Linked DNA regions of Homo sapiens: region 1 is linked to region 2. The links are contacts of gene promoters, found by promoter capture Hi-C in human tissues and cell types (Jung and others, 2019). All regions are on one chromosome and are shown on one strand. Each heading gives the region's core, a stretch centred on a gene start or on the middle of the fragment in contact. The rest is flanking DNA. Distances are from core to core; before and after follow the strand shown. Region 1 holds the start of ELAVL3 (ELAV like RNA binding protein 3). Region 2 holds the start of EPOR (erythropoietin receptor).

The links. Contacts are between HindIII fragments. The study calls those that stand out against the background at their distance.
Region 1: a contact is called between the fragment with the promoter of ELAVL3 here and the fragment with the promoter of EPOR in region 2, in 11 of the 25 tissues and cell types used here (IMR-90 fibroblasts, adrenal gland, aorta and 8 more).

Annotation. Positions count from the first base shown.
Region 1 is chr19:11,478,082-11,482,343 of GRCh38, reverse strand. ELAVL3 (ELAV like RNA binding protein 3) reads left to right here and starts at 1,298. Exons shown (of 7, transcript NM_001420.4): 1 at 1,298-1,744. The coding sequence starts at 1,736. RefSeq lists silencers at 1-211, 2,586-2,780. The HindIII fragment of the contact is 31,814 bases long and covers 1-4,262 here.
Region 2 is chr19:11,381,105-11,385,787 of GRCh38, reverse strand. EPOR (erythropoietin receptor) reads left to right here and starts at 1,474. Exons shown (of 8, transcript NM_000121.4): 1 at 1,474-1,695; 2 at 2,556-2,691; 3 at 3,683-3,858; 4 at 3,939-4,096; 5 at 4,579-4,683. The coding sequence starts at 1,581. RefSeq lists a silencer at 2,175-2,234 and enhancers at 3,688-3,777, 3,788-3,847, 4,098-4,167, 3,834-4,371. The HindIII fragment of the contact is 19,405 bases long and covers 1-4,683 here.

The DNA.
Region 1 (4,262 bases), core at 49-2,548, 97 kb before region 2:
TGGGGCCCCTAGCGCCCGCAGCCAGGTCGCCCCGGCGAGCCCAAGAGGGGCCACCCGGGGATCTGCACCGCCACCGCCCCTATTGCGCGGGCCACTGCGATTGGCCTGCCCTTTCCAGGCGTGGCAGCATCCCCTGGTGCGCGCACTCCCATTGGCTCGATCTCTAGGGCATCTTCCAGTAACTGGTTATCTCAAGGGCCGCCCCTGATTGGGCAAATTAGGCTCTCCTCGCTGGTGGCGCTCTCTGACAGTCTGGAGCCTAAAGGGCGTGCAGGAACGAGGATTGGGTGGGGACTGCCGCTCTCCAGTTAGGGGGTCTGGGCTACCTCGCCGGCAGCGCCCTCGACCGGACTGTCGGATTGCTGTCTGTGGTGCTGAAGCCTCACGCCCTGGCGACCCCGCCCCAGTGTGTGCTAGTTCCCGCGCCCCGACGTAAACATGCACCGGCGCCCGCGCACCAAAGGAGGCTGCGCCACCCCCAACGCCTTAGAGAGAGGCCAGGTTCCCCCTAGCAGAGAGCGAGCATGACTCCACAGTCAGGAGGACCAATCACGAGCCTAGAAAGCCAGGACATTTATGTGGCAGATCCACCCACCCCAGTTCTGTGGGGTCCAAGAAGGATCCGTGGTTTCCCAGAGCTGCATGGCTCCAGCGATGATTGTCCAGAACACTGAGCCCCAAACCTTTTCACCCCCTTCGGAGCAGTGCGGAGTTTCCTTGCACTGGGGAGTGCCAGTCCTTACCTTTTGAACCCTAGAAGGATCCAGCTCACTCAAAACCAACAGCGTCCCAGTCTCCTTCTGCAGAAGACTAGGGCCACAGTAGCCACCCTCCCCCGTGGTCTTGAGGTGGTCTACACTGGTGCCTCCAAATCTGGGGACCCAGGCCTCTGCCTACTAAAATATTGGTTCCTGATCCCCTGTCCAGTTCCCTCAGTGGACAACACCTCTGGAAGGTCGCATATTCAGGCCACTAATACCTCCTCGCTCTGTTGGCTCCTCCAGCTCTAGGAGCTGGACGGAGGAGGGGAGCCCGTCTCCTGGCCCGAAAGCCAGCCCAAGAAGGGGTGCCAGGGTAGGAAGCAAGGGCCTCGAGGGAAGGAGGGCCCAAATCTGGCAACCCGAGCACCTAGGATGCGCTTTTGGGGGATTCAGAGTCCCGACCAGTGCGCGCTCACTTCCACCTGCCGCGCCGTCGGGAGCCGCGAGGAGGCGGAGCTCGGTCGCCGCAGCCAATGAGCGACGCCGGCGCTGGCAGCTGCTGCTATAAAGGGCTGGGGGCGGCGGCGGCGCGGTCCAGAGCGCGGAGCGCGCAGCGCGGGCCGGAGGGAGGGAGGGAGGGTGGGCGAGGGGAGAGGACTTGAACACACGGGACCGGACAGGACCGACCGAGGGGCGGCGGCGAAAGGCAGAGCGCCGCGATCTCTGTCGGGAAGCGCAACCTCCCCGGGCCCCGCGGGGCCGCGCAGGGGGCGTCCTCAACCCCGCGCCCGCTCCCTCTTTCCATCCCCTGCCGCCCGCAGGCCACCCCGGGGCCCGGCCATCCGCGCGCGCATCCCCGGGTTCGGGCCCGTCCCTGGCCCTCGAGGGAGCCGCCGCCTTCATCGCCACATCTGCAGCGGCCGCACCAGAGGCCGCCCGGGCGGGACCCCAGCGTGAGCATCGGGCGCCCCCCTAGGAGTGCACCACCCCCGGAGCCCCCCTCAACACGGACCGCGCCCGCCGGGCACACAAGAATGGTCACTGTAGGTATTCCCCTGTCGCCGAAAGGGAATCGGGACGGGGAGGAGTTGGGCCCAGGCTCCGCGGAGATTGGGCGGGTGCGGCGGGGGGGGTAGGACCAGGCCTAGCTAGGCCCGGGTTGGGGGGGTAGGACCAAGCCTCGGGGCCTGAGAGTGGGCAGGGCCGCGCCCAGAGTGCTGAGGGCGCTTAGAGCTTGGTCTGAGAGGGCCTTAGGGAGACTGACTGCGATTCGGGAGGCGTCCGACGCCGCCCTGGAGGCGGGATTGCCCCCTCTCCAGCAGGCCTGATGGGGGAGGGGCCGCGGCGGCTAAGGATGCTTCCTCCATCCAGGCCCAGACCCCGCAGGCCGCCCAGGCAAACGCAGGGCCCGATCACTGGTGCTGGGCCAAGCCAAAGCGACAAAGCGTCCCCGAGAGCCCTGGGAAAGCGGGTGGCGTCGGATCGCGCGCCCCGGGCCTCGGCCGCACCCGGGAGGCGGGCGTCTCGTCCTCGAGCCCGTCGACCTTGCGGCAAGCGGGGAGGGGAGAGGAGGGGGCGCGCCCGGAGGCCCCGCGGGCCCGCCGCCGCTGCTGCCGCGTCCCTTTGTTTCTCGGCGCTTCTTCGCGGGCCGCAGCCTCGCGCGGGCGCCTCGGGCTGCGGGGAGGGGGAGGGGAGAGGAGGGCCCGCGGGTTGGGGGGGCACCTCTGGGCTCCCGGGTCTCCGCCCCCCGGGAGATGGGGTGGGAGGCCGAGACAGCCCCCTTAGGCCAGGTCCAGGCTCCCCACCTCGCCAAGGCTCTGGGCCGCGAGGTGACCTTGAGCGCGGCCCGCCCGCCTGCTCGCCCGCACCGCTAGCCCCGCGCTCGGTGCTTTCAGCAGCCACGGAGCTGGTCAGCTCCCGAGCGCGCAGCCCCTCCCGCCCTGCCACGCCCTGCCTGGCCACGCCCGGGCACGCCCATCTAGGCCCCGCCCCCAGGGCCCCGGGGGCCCGGCCTCGCCCGAGCCCTCGGATTCCCACTCGGCAGCCCGGGCGTATCCCGGGGGCGGGGCTGGCCAGTTATAGCCCCACCCCGGCTCCACCCCCGCCCCTGCCGCGCGACTCCGCTCCCCGCGCCGCCGCGCGTCCTTTGTCTGGTCCCGGCGCCTGGGCCTCCCTCTTCCACTCTTCCTATCTCTCCGTCTCTGCGTGTGTGTCTCTGTGCATTGTGTCTCTTTCCGGGCCCCTTTTTCGAGTCGTGGCTAGCACTGGGGGTGGGGGCATGATTGGCGCTCCCTCCATGCCTAAGCCTCTCCCCTCCTGGACCCTGGGACCCGCCCACCTGGCTCTGAGAAATGAGGTCCCGGAGGCCTGGCTCACCTGCTGTGTGACCTCAGGCCGTTCCTTTCCCTCTCTGGGCCTCGTGCTGTTCACCCAGGTCTGGGAACTGGAGTGTGGCCTCCTGAGGACCTCAGAACTCCCGCAACAGTCCAGCATCTCCTAAGCGTCCTCTGATCGGTTCTCTCATTTGAAAAAGGAAACTAATGCACAAAGGGAAAGAGGGTGTGGTCAGAGGTCACACAAGGGCCTTGAGGACCTAGGTTCTCCAGTGAGCGAGCCCTGGGGCAGAGATGTATCATGGGGACAGGCTGGGAGGAAGAGAGGTGACAAATTAAGACCAGGAGGACCCTGCATTGAAGAAGGGCCCAGAAGTAGGAGGCTCAGTCAGCACCACGTGGTAGCCCAGCCTCACCATGCATAGCCACTCAATGCCCTATTGTCGCCGGTATCCAGGCATCTGTCACTGTGACTGGGGCCAGGGGCCGCAGCTGGGGGCCGTGGGGGTCAGACACAGGAGGTTTTAAGAAAAAAGTGGCCTCAGGTGTGTTCACTGCAAAACCCATACGTCAGATGTATGTGCGATGGTGGAAAAGAGGAAGAGAGAGTGATGAGGCCAGGGACACAGAACGGTTCAGAGAGAGGGCAGGACAGTGGAGAAGAGAGGGAAACAGAGGAAGAAAGAGGGAGAGAGAAACCAAAAGTCGGGGGAGACTTAGAAGAAGCACTGGAGAGAATGGGAAGCTTCCCTAACCCTCCATCTTTTATCTGCCCTCCTCCTCCCTGACTTTGCCACCCCCCCATCTCTGTCTGGGGCCAGTCGCCGAAGTCCCTTTGATGCCCATGTAGCCACCATCCCAGGCTGTGCACTTACTGCAGGCTGGGGCAGGGCGGGTGTGGCTTCCATCAATCTGATCCCCATTATCAGCTCAGCCGGCTCAGCCACAGAGGAAACGAGATACTGGTCCCGCTAAGCTCTGGCACAAATGGGAGGGAGAACGGGTGGTGGCCAGATTAGCAGGCTAGGCCTCAAGAACCTGGGTCTGAACCACCCAGTCACCTCTTCACTCTGCTCAGGTTGGGGACACCATGGGAGGGGGGCAGCCAGTAACTCTTTCGGCTCTAGGGTCATCGGATCAGGAGTCAGATGTTGACACCATCCCCTCCACCTCCTCCTGTCACCCTGGACAAGTCATAGGTCCCTGTGACTAACCCTCAGTGTCCCCA
Region 2 (4,683 bases), core at 225-2,724:
CTCCCAAGTAGCTGGGATTACAGGCATGCAGCACCACGCCCATCTAATTTTTGTATTTTTGGTAGAGATGGGGTTTTACCATGTTGGCCAGGATGGTCTTGATCTCTTGACCTCGTGATCTGCCCACCTCGGCCTCCCAAAGTGCTGGGATTACAGGCGTGAGCCACCGCGCCCGGCCTACGCCTGGCTAATTTTTGTATTTTTAGTAGAGACGTGGTTTCGCCATGTTGCCCAGGCTGGTCTCGAACTCCTGACCTCATGATCCGCCTGTCTCGGCCTCCCAAAGTGTTGGGATTACAGGTATGAGCCACCGCGCCCAGCCAATTATTATTATTTTTTGAGATGCAGTCTCACTCTGTTGCCCAGGCTGGAGTTGCAGTGGCATGATCTTGGCTCACTGCAATCTTCATCTCCCAGACTGAAGCAGTTCTCATGCCTCAGCCTCCTGAGTAGCTGGGATTACAGGCACACGCCACCACACCTGGCTAATTTTTGTATTTTTAGTAGAGATGGGATTTCACCATGTTGGCCAGGCTGGTCTCAAACTCCTGACCTCAAGTGATTTGCCCACGTCGGCCTCCCAAAGTGCTGGGATTATAGGCGTGAGCCACCGGGCCCAGCCCAAGAGAATAAAAATGTGGGTGGTAAAAATTTTTTTCCCAAAAATTCGTAAATGAAAATCTCACATATTATGCATACTGCCCAGGAGCATGGCCTAGCACTGTGCAAACACTCAACTGCTGGTCGTTGCAAGGATTATTATTGGCCGGCTTCAGTGGCTCGTGCTGGTATTCCCAGCACATTGGGAGATGGAGGCTGGAGGATTGCTTAAGTCCGGGATTTCAAGACCAGCCTGGACAACATAGTGGGATCCCATCTCTACAAAGAATTTTAAAAATTAGCCAGGTGCAGTGGGAAGATTGCTTCAGTCCAGAGGCTGCAGTGAGCTATGATTGTGCCACTGCACTCCAGCCTGGGTGACAGAGCAACACCCTGAGACAGAGAGAGAGAGGGGGAAGGAGGGAAGGAGGGAAGGAAGGAAGGAAGGAAGGAAGGAAGGAAGGAAGGAAGGAAGGAAGGAAAGGAGAGAGAGAGAGAGAGAGAGAGAGAGAGAGAGAGAAAATAATTTTTATTTATTTCCAGGCTGGGAAGAGATGCTGATTTCTGCGATAAAATCAGTAGGTACATTTTTTGGAATGTTCGCTATGTGCCAGGCTAGATTTTACAGATGAGAAGTCTGAAGCTCAGGTAAGGTAAGTCACCTGTCCAGGGCCACAAAGAAAAAAAAAACGTGTGTCTGAAGCCAGAACGGGAGCTGTTGCGGCCCAACTCCCTCCCCTGCCCCCAAGCGGCCTCTGGGCTCGGGAAGGGCCCCTGCCTCCTCCCGCCAGGCACTTATCTCTACCCAGGCTGAGTGCTGGCCCCGCCCCCTCGGGGATCTGCCACTTAGAGGCGCCTGGTCGGGAAGGGCCTGGTCAGCTGCGTCCGGCGGAGGCAGCTGCTGACCCAGCTGTGGACTGTGCCGGGGGCGGGGGACGGAGGGGCAGGAGCCCTGGGCTCCCCGTGGCGGGGGCTGTATCATGGACCACCTCGGGGCGTCCCTCTGGCCCCAGGTCGGCTCCCTTTGTCTCCTGCTCGCTGGGGCCGCCTGGGCGCCCCCGCCTAACCTCCCGGACCCCAAGTTCGAGAGCAAAGGTAAGGATGAGCTGCGTGTGGACCCCTACGCTGGAGCCTGCAGGACCATGCTGGGGCCTGAACTCCCAGCCTAGGTCCTGGGGGCCATGCCTGTTTCTGGACTTCCTGACCGGGTCCTGGGGGCCAAGCTGGCATCTGAACCCTTAGACTGGGTCCTGGATGGGTGGGGGGCGGGGTGGGGTATGTTAGGATCCAAGACTCCTGATCGCGTCCCGGGCAAGAGCTAGAGTGGGCTTAACATTCCCGTTTTACCTTTTCAGGGAGTCTGGGACATGCTAAATCCTAAGGGGGCTGACTTGGTGCTAAGGTCCCTGGGGGGTGGGGACCAAGCCGACCCTCCCTAGGGGAGGGAGGGTAAAGCCCGGGTCCGAGTTAGAGGGGCCAAGCCACAGGCTACTGTAAACACGGTTTGTGTGAGGGCGCCAGATCACTTGCCCGGCCCGGTGGAGGGAGGGAGGCGGGGGGCACGGTTGGCGCTATCGGTTGGCGGGGAGCCTGCCGGGGCCGATAGGGGGCCCGCCTCTCCGCACACACCCCCAGCCGCGCGCGTGTCCTAGGCTGGGGCGGGGCTGGCAGTCCCGAGCTCGAGGTCTTGAACGCCGCGCCCAGCTCAGCTGGCCGCTGGGTGGGCAGGTGTGCGCCAGTGGTGACGGCGGGGGACAGTAAGGCGAGAAACTTGCCCCTGGGAATTAGGGGGGCACCACCTCTGCGGACCCCTCCAAGGGACCCGCTTGGGAAGATGGCAGGGCGGGGCTTTTTTCTTATCGGGTCCGCCCAGGCTGCGGGAGGGAAGAGGAGGGGGCTGTCTCCCGAGGATAGAGCTCAGACCCCCATGCCCTTCCTTTGTCGCCCCTCCCCAGCGGCCTTGCTGGCGGCCCGGGGGCCCGAAGAGCTTCTGTGCTTCACCGAGCGGTTGGAGGACTTGGTGTGTTTCTGGGAGGAAGCGGCGAGCGCTGGGGTGGGCCCGGGCAACTACAGCTTCTCCTACCAGCTCGAGTGAGTCCGATCCGGCGGGTGCCTCCAAGGGCGGAGGGAGGGGGTGGGGCAGAGCTCCCTGGAGGTCGTAGCCTCGTATGTCCCCTGCTGTTTGAGGCCCGACGGCGCCTCCAGTCGTGGTCACTGGAGGGAAACCTGCGGGTCCAGGGCTGGCACGCCCTCTATGGGCCGGGGCGCGAACACTCCCGCGATCACCGCTGGAACGCGACCCCAAACATCAGGCTGGGATAACAACGCCTCCAAATCGAGGGTAAGGCGTTACTACGTCGGGGCTGGGACGCCTTCTCGAGGTAGTATCCAAAAGGAGGCCAGCAGTGGCTCATGCCTGTAATCCCAACTCTTTGGAAGGTCGAGGCGGAAGAACCGCTTGAGCCCAGGAGTTCAAGACCAGCCTGGGCAACACAGCGAGATCCCCGTCTCTTAAAAAAAAATTAGACTGGGCGCGGTGGCTCACGCCTGTAATCCCAGCACTTTGGGAGGCTGAGGCGGGCGGATCACCTGAGGTCGGGAGTTTGAGACCAGCCTGGCCAACATGGAGAAACTCTATCTCTACTAAAAATACAAAATTAGCCGGGCGTGGTGGCGCATGCCTGTGATCCCAGCTACTCGGGAGGCTGAGGCAGGAGAATCGCTTGAACCCGGGAGGCGGAGGTTGCGGTGAGCCGAGGTAGCGCCATTGCACTCCAGCCTGGGCAACAAGAGCGAAACTCCGTCTCAAAAAAAAAAAAAAAAAAAGCCAGGCGTGGCGCGTGCCTGTGGTCTCAACTACTTGGGAAGCTGAGGTGGGAGGATCCCTTAAGCCCCAGAATTTGAGGCTGCAGTGAGCCATGATCGCGCCACTGCACTCCAGCCTGGGCGACGAAGGAACACCTTGTCACACACACACACAAGGCTAGACCTTGTGTCACACATACACACTGCCCCCCACAGGCCGGGCAATGCCAACTCCCCGGTCCCCCCTCCCAACCTGCTCCCTTCCCTGGGCGCATAGGGATGAGCCATGGAAGCTGTGTCGCCTGCACCAGGCTCCCACGGCTCGTGGTGCGGTGCGCTTCTGGTGTTCGCTGCCTACAGCCGACACGTCGAGCTTCGTGCCCCTAGAGTTGCGCGTCACAGCAGCCTCCGGCGCTCCGCGATATCACCGTGTCATCCACATCAATGAAGTAGGTAAGTGCTCTGGGAATGGAGGAGTGGTCGGAGGAGAGGGTCTCAGTCCTCGCCCACCTGACCAACCCCCATGCCTGCAGTGCTCCTAGACGCCCCCGTGGGGCTGGTGGCGCGGTTGGCTGACGAGAGCGGCCACGTAGTGTTGCGCTGGCTCCCGCCGCCTGAGACACCCATGACGTCTCACATCCGCTACGAGGTGGACGTCTCGGCCGGCAACGGCGCAGGGAGCGTACAGAGGGTGAGGCCAGCCCCTACGGCCCAGCCCCCAAAGCTCCACTGACTACGGCCCAGCCACGCCTCTCGAGGTCGCGCCCGGTGCCGCTTTCAGGGCCGGTCCGTAACATCCCACATCCCATTACCCTGGTGCTGAAGACCGTTCCACGCCCACAGACACACCCCCTTTCCTAATGTCCTCGCAAGCCTGTTGAACCCCAACTTCTTCTCCCTCCGGCCCGTAACCCTAGACCCCTTTAGCGCCCGGGTCCCTCTACGAGTGCTAGCCCAGATATTAAATTGCCCGGGTCCCGCCCTTTCGTACCAGAGACTCTCTCTCTGATTGGCCCTGAGCTTTCTTGGGCTCCTCCCCCTACTCTTATTGGTCCCATTGCAATTCTAGGGCACCGTTTTCCTTTCCCCTGATTGGCTCAGTTCCACCAGGGCCCGCCCCCACGTCATCTATTTTTGTCTGCTACGCGTCCCTCGCCCTGATTCCGCCCCCAGGTGGAGATCCTGGAGGGCCGCACCGAGTGTGTGCTGAGCAACCTGCGGGGCCGGACGCGCTACACCTTCGCCGTCCGCGCGCGTATGGCTGAGCCGAGCTTCGGC